Regions from separate parts of the Homo sapiens genome. Here region 2 is linked to region 1. Evidence: promoter capture Hi-C in human tissues and cell types (Jung and others, 2019). All regions are on one chromosome and are shown on one strand. Each heading gives the region's core, a stretch centred on a gene start or on the middle of the fragment in contact. The rest is flanking DNA. Distances are from core to core; before and after follow the strand shown.

What was found. Contacts are between HindIII fragments. The study calls those that stand out against the background at their distance.
Region 2: a fragment that was not itself captured here is called in contact with the fragment with the promoter of KCNS1 in region 1 in 2 of the 25 tissues and cell types used here (dorsolateral prefrontal cortex and spleen).

The regions. Positions count from the first base shown.
Region 1 is chr20:45,098,339-45,102,612 of GRCh38, forward strand. KCNS1 (potassium voltage-gated channel modifier subfamily S member 1) reads right to left here and starts at 2,789. Exons shown (of 4, transcript NM_001322799.2): 1 at 2,583-2,789; 2 at 823-901; 3 at 1-357. The coding sequence starts at 898. The HindIII fragment of the contact is 6,202 bases long and covers 1-4,274 here.
Region 2 is chr20:44,968,390-44,972,834 of GRCh38, forward strand. It overlaps STK4 (serine/threonine kinase 4), which reads left to right. Exons shown (of 11, transcript NM_006282.5): 2 at 3,689-3,769. Among named protein-coding and RNA genes, the nearest start is that of STK4, 4.1 kb to the left of the region's middle. RefSeq lists a silencer at 1-7. The HindIII fragment of the contact is 4,792 bases long and covers 1-4,445 here.

The DNA.
Region 1 (4,274 bases), core at 1,539-4,038:
CGCCTAGGCCCCAGTAGTCGGCCTCCTGGCCAAAGGCGAAGACGCACAGCTCGTCGAGCACGTGCAGGTGGCCAGTGCGGTAGAAGTGCAGCAGGCTCAGGAAGAAGCCCGGGTGCCGGTCGAAGTAGAATTCGCGCGCCGCCTCGTCGTAGTCGTCGCACAGGCGCCGCGCCTGCTCCTCCGACGCCGCGGCCTGCAGGCGGCCCAGCCGCGTGCCCGGGAAGCGCGCCAGGGCGCGCGCGCTCAGCTGCCGCCGCACGCCACCCACGTTCACGCGCAGCGCCTCGTCGCTTCGCCGCCAGCGGATCCCGGTGTCGGGGCCCGGGAACTCGCTCACAAAGGTTTCAGTGCTCCTCCCTGCGGACACCAGAAGGGCGCGCTGAGGAGTTCCCGGGCTTCCCTTCCTGGAAGACCAGGTTAAAATCCCCTCCTCCATCCAACCAGCCAAGGGGTGTTGGAGGCTGTGTGTGAAGCATCTGGTATGCAGGAGGCGCTCAGTAGATGTCAGGTGCCCTCTGGACTCAGAGTCAGGCCTGGCTTTGACTATCCTTCATCCCCATCATTTGACTTTGGCCAAATCACTGACCCACCCCACCCCCATTTCATTTTTCTCCTTTGGAAAGTAAATGCTGAGATCTACCTGGAAGGATATGAAAGCGATGGAATCGCAGGATGTCCTGGCACCTAGTGGGTGCTCACATAGGATGTCTCCTTTTCCAGGACAAACTTGGATTTATTTACACCAAAGGTCTACTGTGGGATCTTGGGCCCGCCAGCCCTCTGAACCTGTTTCTTCTGCAAAATGAGGATAGTAACACTTACCTCCTAGGGGTGTTGGCAGCACCACTTTAGACCGGAGGTTCTCATAGTGTGTTCCCCGGACCAGCAGCATCAGCATCACCTGGGAATTTGTCAAAGATGCAAATTCTCAGCCTGCCATCGATTTACTGAATCGGGAACTCTAAGGGTGGGGTCTAGCACTTTGTGTTCTAACAAGATTGGAAAGTGATTCGGCTACATAGTCAAGTTTGAGAGCTCCTGCTTTAGATTATGTAAAGCATCTGTAGAGTCAGCCAGACCTGACCTTGAATCTTGACTCTCTTGTGTCACCTTAGGCAAGTAACATCACCTCTCTGAGCCTCTGTGAAATGGAAATAAAAATATTCACCTCAAAGTGTGGTTATGAAGATTAAATGACCTAGTGTCTTTCTTGGGCTTGGCTCACAGAAGGAATTTAATAAATTATTCACTGGTGTCACTATCTTCTGGAGTCAGGCAAACCTGGGTTTATCTCCACCCCTGACGCACCTGGGGCCTTGAGGAAGCTATTTGTCCTCCAGGTCTCAATTTCCTGCACAACGTAGATAATAGCACCTACCTCCAGGGATGACTGGAGGATTAAGGTAGATTATAGAAAGTGCTCAGCCTTAGTGGATACTCAGGAAGGATTTAGGTTCTTCCACTACCCACTGACTCCTGACTCTGCTGGAATTGGGGGCTAGTGACACCTCCTCACCACTGGCAATCTCATTTGCACTGTGGGTTCAGTAATGCCTAGACTAGGGATTAAGTGTGTGTAAAGCACCTGGGCTTGGCATTAAATGGATTTGGGGTTCCACCCTTAGCTCTATCACTTGTGTGACCTCAGGCCAGTCTCCTTCCCACTCTGGGCTTTAGCTCTTTTACCTCTAGAATGGGGATAATGTTGCTTTGGATGCATCATTATTGTGGTATATGTCAAAGCCCTGGGAAAACAGTAGATGCTCAATAAATGTTAATCCTGTGTACTTCCCTGTGGTCAGACCTGAGTCTACCACTTACTAGCTGCTGTCCTTGAGTGCATTCGTCGCCCTCTCTGGGCTTGTTTCCCTGTCTGTGGAACCGGGTAGCATCATACTTTCCAGGAGAGGCTCAGAGAATTAAATGATGCAAGGTGTTTATCGGCAGCATGGTCCCTGGCACATAATCAATGCACAATAAACGTGTGATGTAGCTCCGCTCCCACCTCCACTTGGATCTCCACCTGCATTTGGCATCAAAAAATGAAATTTCTAATCCAGTTCCATCACCCATTAGAAGCATAATATTGGGCAAATCCCTTCATCCATCAGGAGCTCACTTTCCTGCTCTATGAAACAGGATAATTAATTCAACAAACATTTTCTGACAAGAACCTGAATATCAGTAAGAAAGACCAAGTGACTTGTTCAAAATCACCCAGCTAGTCCATGGCACAGCTAAGGTTGGAGACCAGGTTTTTTTATTTCATTCTCTCTCCACACACTTATTTTGAGCACCTCCTATCTGCTAGTCACTCCTCTGGGCTCCATGCACACCTCACTCGGTTTAATCCCTACACCAACCCTGCCAGGGAGGTTTTCTAATCCCATTTTACAGATGAGCAAACTGTACCAGCCAGGGTCTCCAAAGCGCGGCCACCCCACACTGCTTCCTCCTTGGCGGGGGGTGGGGGGTCTCTTAGAGGGGGTAAGAGCACCAGGAGCCCCAGGCAGCCCCGCCTCCCACTCTGGCTGCCCGGGACCGTCCCGGAGCCACGTCCCTCCCCAAAGGAGGCCCCTTACCTGTGGTGGCACCTCCCGGGCGCCTCGCGTGTCTGTCCCAAAGCCACCGAGGCTGGGAGCCGCTGGCTATACTCGGTCTCGCCTCTGCCCCGCCGGCCCCGCCGAGCCTCCTGCTGCAGGCGGCCCCGCTGCCCTCTCCTTCCTTCTTCCTTGCCTAGTCCCCCGCGGCTGAAGGCCGCATCGATCGCTGCCGGAGGAGGGAGTGAGGCCGCTGGCGGCCGGAGGCGGCGGTTTCTATTCCTGACTCGGCTGGGGGGTGGTGGTGTCTGGAGACTGGGCCTACCTGCAGGGGCATCCTCCGGAGTTACGGGCCGGGAAGGAGGGGTCATTTAGGGCGTGAGGATTCCCCGTAGAGAGGGATTTCAGCAGAAGCTTCTCTGGCAAAGGAACAACAGTAATCATGATTTACTTAATTGAGTGTTTAGTATGTGCCAGGGTACTTCAGCTGCTGCAAGTGATTGATCTCAGTTATTCCTGGCACACACACTTGACAGGGCCAGGATCTTATGTCGCCCATTTTAGGGGTGAGCTCCAGTCATTTTCTCAGACCGTGGGCATCTGAGTTAGGGAGCTGTAGAAGGTGGCCTCATCTCCCTTGGAGCCCCAGGTTCTTCCTAGGTGAGTTGTGAAGCTTGAAACGATCATTTTACCCCTGAGGCGCAGTGTCCTTACCTGCCCACGGGTTCCTGATTCCCACCTGCCAAGTGGGTTGTGAGGGCAGAGAACATGTGCCAAAGAGCTTTGTAGAGGTTGTGAAATCCCCACACATGTACCTGTTGTGTGGCTGCTGTGTGCCTGGTTGGGGAGAGGCTCCTGGAGACTAGGGCCTGGATATGAGCCTTTGCACATATTGTTATTAATAATAATGATAATTACCAACGTTTATTGAGTACTTACCTTGGGTCAAGCACAGACCTCAATCTCACTCAAACTGCAAATTTATCTGTGGGGTAAGTGCTACTATTATTCCTATCTCACAGATAAGAACTGCTTTGAGAGGTGTGGTGACTTGCCGGAGGTCCCATGGCTGACTTCTGAGTCCTCTAGGCCAGCACAGTCCAACACCTATAATGTGAGCCACATATATAATTTTATTTTATTTTATTTTTGATTTTTTGAGATAGAGTCTCACTCACTCTGTTGCAGGCTGGAGTGCAGTGGCACAATCTTGGCTCACTGCAACCTCCGCCTCCTGGGTTCAAGCGATTCTCCTGCCTCAGCCTCCTGAGTAGCTGGGATTACAGGCATGCACCACCATGCCCAGCTAATTTTTGTATTTTTAGTACAGAAGGGGTTTCACCATGTTGGCCAGGCTGGTCTTGAACTCCTGGCCTCAAATGATCCACCTGCCTTGGCCTCACAAAATGCTGAGATTACAGGCATGAGCCACCGCGTCCGGCCCACATATGTCCTTTTACATTTCTGATTGCAACATTTTAAAGAAGTAAAAAACAGGCGAAATTACAGTTACCCCTTAAACAGTGGGGGTTAGGGAAACCACTCCTCCATGCCTAGAAAATTAGAATATAACTTTTGACTCCCCTGAAACTTAACTAGTAATAACTTACTGTTCGCCAGAAACCTTACCAATAATATAAACAGTCGATTGACACATAAATAGTATCTACATATATCTTAGGCATTCACGACATATCTAACTTATTCTTAAGGCTTTTGATATTTCTAGTCTAC
Region 2 (4,445 bases), core at 972-3,471, 130 kb before region 1:
GCTTCTCAAAGTGGTGGGATTACAGGCGTGAGCCACCGGGCCCGGCCATGCTCTTAACTGCCTCACTCTGATGCCTCTCTAAAAGTACCCCTGTTTCACAGGTCTCTGTGTATGTTAGCAGATATTTACTATAGTACCATAGTGATCCAATTATGAATGCACACTAGTTATGTTTCTTTCTGAACTATGTTCGTTCGTTCTTCTTGGTTTCTTTCTCCGAGGCCTTGGTTTAATTGAAAAGAGGATTAGGAATCTGAGTTTTGTTTCCCCCTTTGCCTTGTCTTACATAATCTTGAGCAAAGGACTAAAGTTTCTTGGCATGCTCATTCCTGTACCTTTTGGATTTTAAAAAATGTATTAAAAGCACAAGAGAAGAGCATTGCAGGACTGGGTTCTGAAGTGGCTGGTGATTCCCAGCTCATTGTAACTAGTAGATTGCCTAATTTGAAGCAGATCAATTTTATTATCACGTGTATCAGTTTATCAGGACAAGACAAAGTGTCATGGAGTGGGTGGTTTAAGCAACGTAAATTTATTCTCTCACTGTTCTGAAGGCTAGAGATCTGAAATCAAGGCATTGTCAGAGTTGTTTCTTTTGACGCCTTTGCTTGACTCGTAGATGGCCATCTCCCTGTGTCTCCATGTTCTTCCTTCTGTACCTGTCAGTGTCCTAATCTCCTCTTATAAGGACACCAGTCATACTGGATTAGGGCATGCCCATATGACCTCATTTTATCTTAATTACCTCTTTAAAGGCCTTGTCTCCAAATACAGTCACATTCTTAGGTGGTGGGTATTAGGACTTCAGCATATGAATTGGGGTAAGCTGGGGACACAGTTTTATTATGTAAGATTTTGTCCATTTATCATGTATAGTTGTTGTAATCCATATCAAATTCTGTGTGGAAAAAGAAATAGTTACACATAAAATGAACTTTATGGGAGTTCTGAAATGGGAGAAAGCTTTGAGAATTAGCCAGACCTGTAAGTGACTACTTCATAGACACCATTACTTGTGTTTGGAAAGATACAGGTGTCTTTTCAGAAATTCAGATGGCATGTGTTTCCAATAACCCCAGTGCAGGAAATGCCCTTTGTGTTCGTGAGTTTGACATTTGTGTGTGTGTGTGATTAAGTGATGACAGATTGGTGTCTCATATAGGAGTTAATAATTTTAAAAAATGAGTTGCCATTAGATTAATGTTATAGTGGAAGGCGTAGAGTGCATTCCTGGGATGCTGGCCATCCACATGGCCATCTGACTTAGGAGAGGAGCATCCACCAGTATTTGGTCCATGGATGCTCTGTTGATCAGGCTTGTTCATTTATGAGCAAGTGCTGAAACCGTCTGGAACCTGGGGAAGTCCCAGATAAGAGAACTGTATTATCAGAGTCAGGCTGTTTTGGTAATAGTGTTTTTTCTGTGAAGAGTCATGGTATAAAATATTATTATGAATCACTTATCAAAATATTTTTATAGAAATGTTGATAATTCAGTAATACTTCTTAGGTGAAATTCTGTTTTATTGTGATAATTCAAAGATTGCTGATGAAATTCGTGATTCCCATCATTACATTTGTGAATCCATTTCACAAATATATTTTGACCACCTCTTGGTTATCAGGCACCAGAGATGTAATAGCGCCTTAAGTTCAAGTTGTTTTTAATAGCCCCGGATCAAAAACAAACAAAAAAGCACTTAGATTGTTTCAAAGATGTATTCGAGCCGTCATATGCTAAATGACGAGTTAATGGGTGCAGCACACCAGCATGGCACATGTATACATATGTAACTAACCTGCACATTGTGCACATGTACCCTAAAACTTAAAGTATAATAATAATTAAAAAAAAAGAAAAAAAAAGTTTGTCAAAGTATTATCAGAGGTTTGCAGCTGTCTATCTCAAGGCAGTGGCAATTTCCTTTGTTATGCTGTGGTCCCTGAAGTAGTTGAAATAGTGACTTTTGCATTTTGTAAACCACAGAGAGTCAACACTTCAAAGAAACATACTTGATCTTCCTTTGTATAAGCTGTTTATACAACTTTGATTATACTTGAGAAGTGAGGTATTGTCCAATGTTTATACAATTACAATTCAGGACTTTACCAAAAAAACCCTGGCATATGAGATGTTCGTTCTGACTTCTGAGTTTATAGAAGTTTCAGTTCTGAAGTTTAAGAGGAGTTTCACTTCATCCCTTTTCATTTTGAAGGTAGGAGTTTTTATGATGTCATTGGTATTTAATTTTTAGGACCTTTTGATTTTCAAAGGTCACTGTGATCATTTTGTTCTGTTGATATCAAGTTAAGGCAGTTTTGACTTGGAGCAGTTCTCCATTTCTCTAGTTTATAGTCCTTGATATTCATAAACTATAAGATTGTCCTTCTGAGATCAGTGTTTATTGGTAGATACACTTGATGTGGTCAGGGTTTTTGTTGGTTTGTTTTATTTTTTGTCTTCTAATTTTAATCTGTTTTATTTAGGAAGGTACACATTTGTGTGTGTGTGTGTGTGTGTGTATGTGTGTGTATTTAAGTCTTTTGTTGTAATAATTGATATTATCCAGCTAGTCTAAACCTTTTTTTTTCTACAAAGAGGTCTCCAGTGTGACTACTTCCATATTTCACCGTTTCCTCAGCTCTCTATTCTTTGTTGTTCTTTGTAGTTTCAGGAAGCCATTGTGTAGACTACACACACACACACACACACACACACACACACACACACACACATATTCCTTGGCAAGTTCCTTCTTTAAGCTCATTAGTAATTTTCAGAGATCTCAGAGTTTTAAAAAAATGTTAATTTATAACCTCCCATGTTTGTTATGATTGTCTAGCATAGTCAGAAATCTGAATTATCTGGAAATTGTGAGCAGCCAAGTACCTTTGATTTTTGGGACTAGTCAAAGGTATGTATCTACTCATAGGAAGGTCTTTGTGAGAATATCTGAAACTCACAGCTGCCTAGTGATTTTTCACTTTTGATCATATCTAAATGTACACTTTCCACTTTCTGTTTCTGTGATACCTACAGAATTTATGTGTTTTGACAAACTTACAAAAAACTTGCTAATGGAAGAGCAAAGGTTTCCCGTGTCTTCCTTAGTCTGCAGTCCAATTCATAGTTATGTTTCAATTCATAGTTACCTTACATTAAACACCTTTTCTGAAGAGATAATTACATCATTTTAATTCATGAAATCTCAAGATTTAAATAGATTTTGAAGGATACATCGAATGCTTGAATCTACAGCATTTCAGCCACATGACTTTTTTTTTTTTTTTTTTTTTTTTTGAGACAGTCTCTCTCTGTCACCCAAGCTTGAGCGTAGTGGCGCAATTTCGGTTCACTGCAAACTCTGCCTCCTGGGTTCACGCCATTCTTATGCTTCAGCGTCCTGAGTAGCTGGGATTACAGGCATGCGTTACCACGCCCAGCTAATTTTTTTGTATTTTTAGTGGAGACGGGGTTTCACCATGTTAGCCAGGATGGTCTCGATCTCCTGATCTCGTGATCTGCCTGTATCGGCCTCCCAAGAAACCTTGTTTCTTAAAACAGTCTTAACTAGTGAAGTCTGTATAGAGAAGTTCCTGAGATGCTAATTATAAAAAAAAGATATATTTTATGTTCTAGTTCCTAGCAAATAAAATGTATTTTGTGTTTATATTTCTTTATTCACAGGCAGCTGAAAAAGTTGGATGAAGATAGTTTAACCAAACAACCAGAAGAAGTATTTGATGTCTTAGAGAAACTTGGAGAAGGGTGAGTGTAAAGAAACTATAGGTAGGTCATTGGGTCCCAGTCTTTTTCCTGCCCCAGAAGAAGCAGAAGGATATGAACCTTTCAGCATTGTTCTAGGTGGGGTGGAAGGTAAATTTACAGCTTGTGATGTCCTTCTTCGCTTTACTCCAATCCCTATTATAGACAGATTTAGTGATTCCTGGTCTTTTTAACACGAAGAATATCTATTGTTTTCTCTTTTGTAGGATCTGTATGATTTTATCTACTTAACAGATAGCACTAATTAGATTAAAATTCTATAAGAAACTTTTTAATTTGCTGTTCATAATTTCTGATTGGTATGCAATAACTGTTTCAATGAAAATCAATGTAATTTAGTATTTTAATATTTGCACCTTTGTGAAATATAGTAAATAAATTAAGCACTATCACCACCTTCACAGCTACTTAGGAGATCCACAATCCTGGGTTGGGAGCCAGTGGATTTCCTGAAACACAGATTTGTTAATGCGTTTATAAAATACTGATGAAATGATATTAGTAATGTGCAGTGACCATCATTGACTTTCATGATACAATTAAGTTTACATAATTTTTATACTTTTATATATCATTTTAATTCAATCCTGTGTATTTATTCCTTCTTCTGTAATGACCAGGAAATTAAAATGTTAATGACACCATTTCTTAAGTTTTT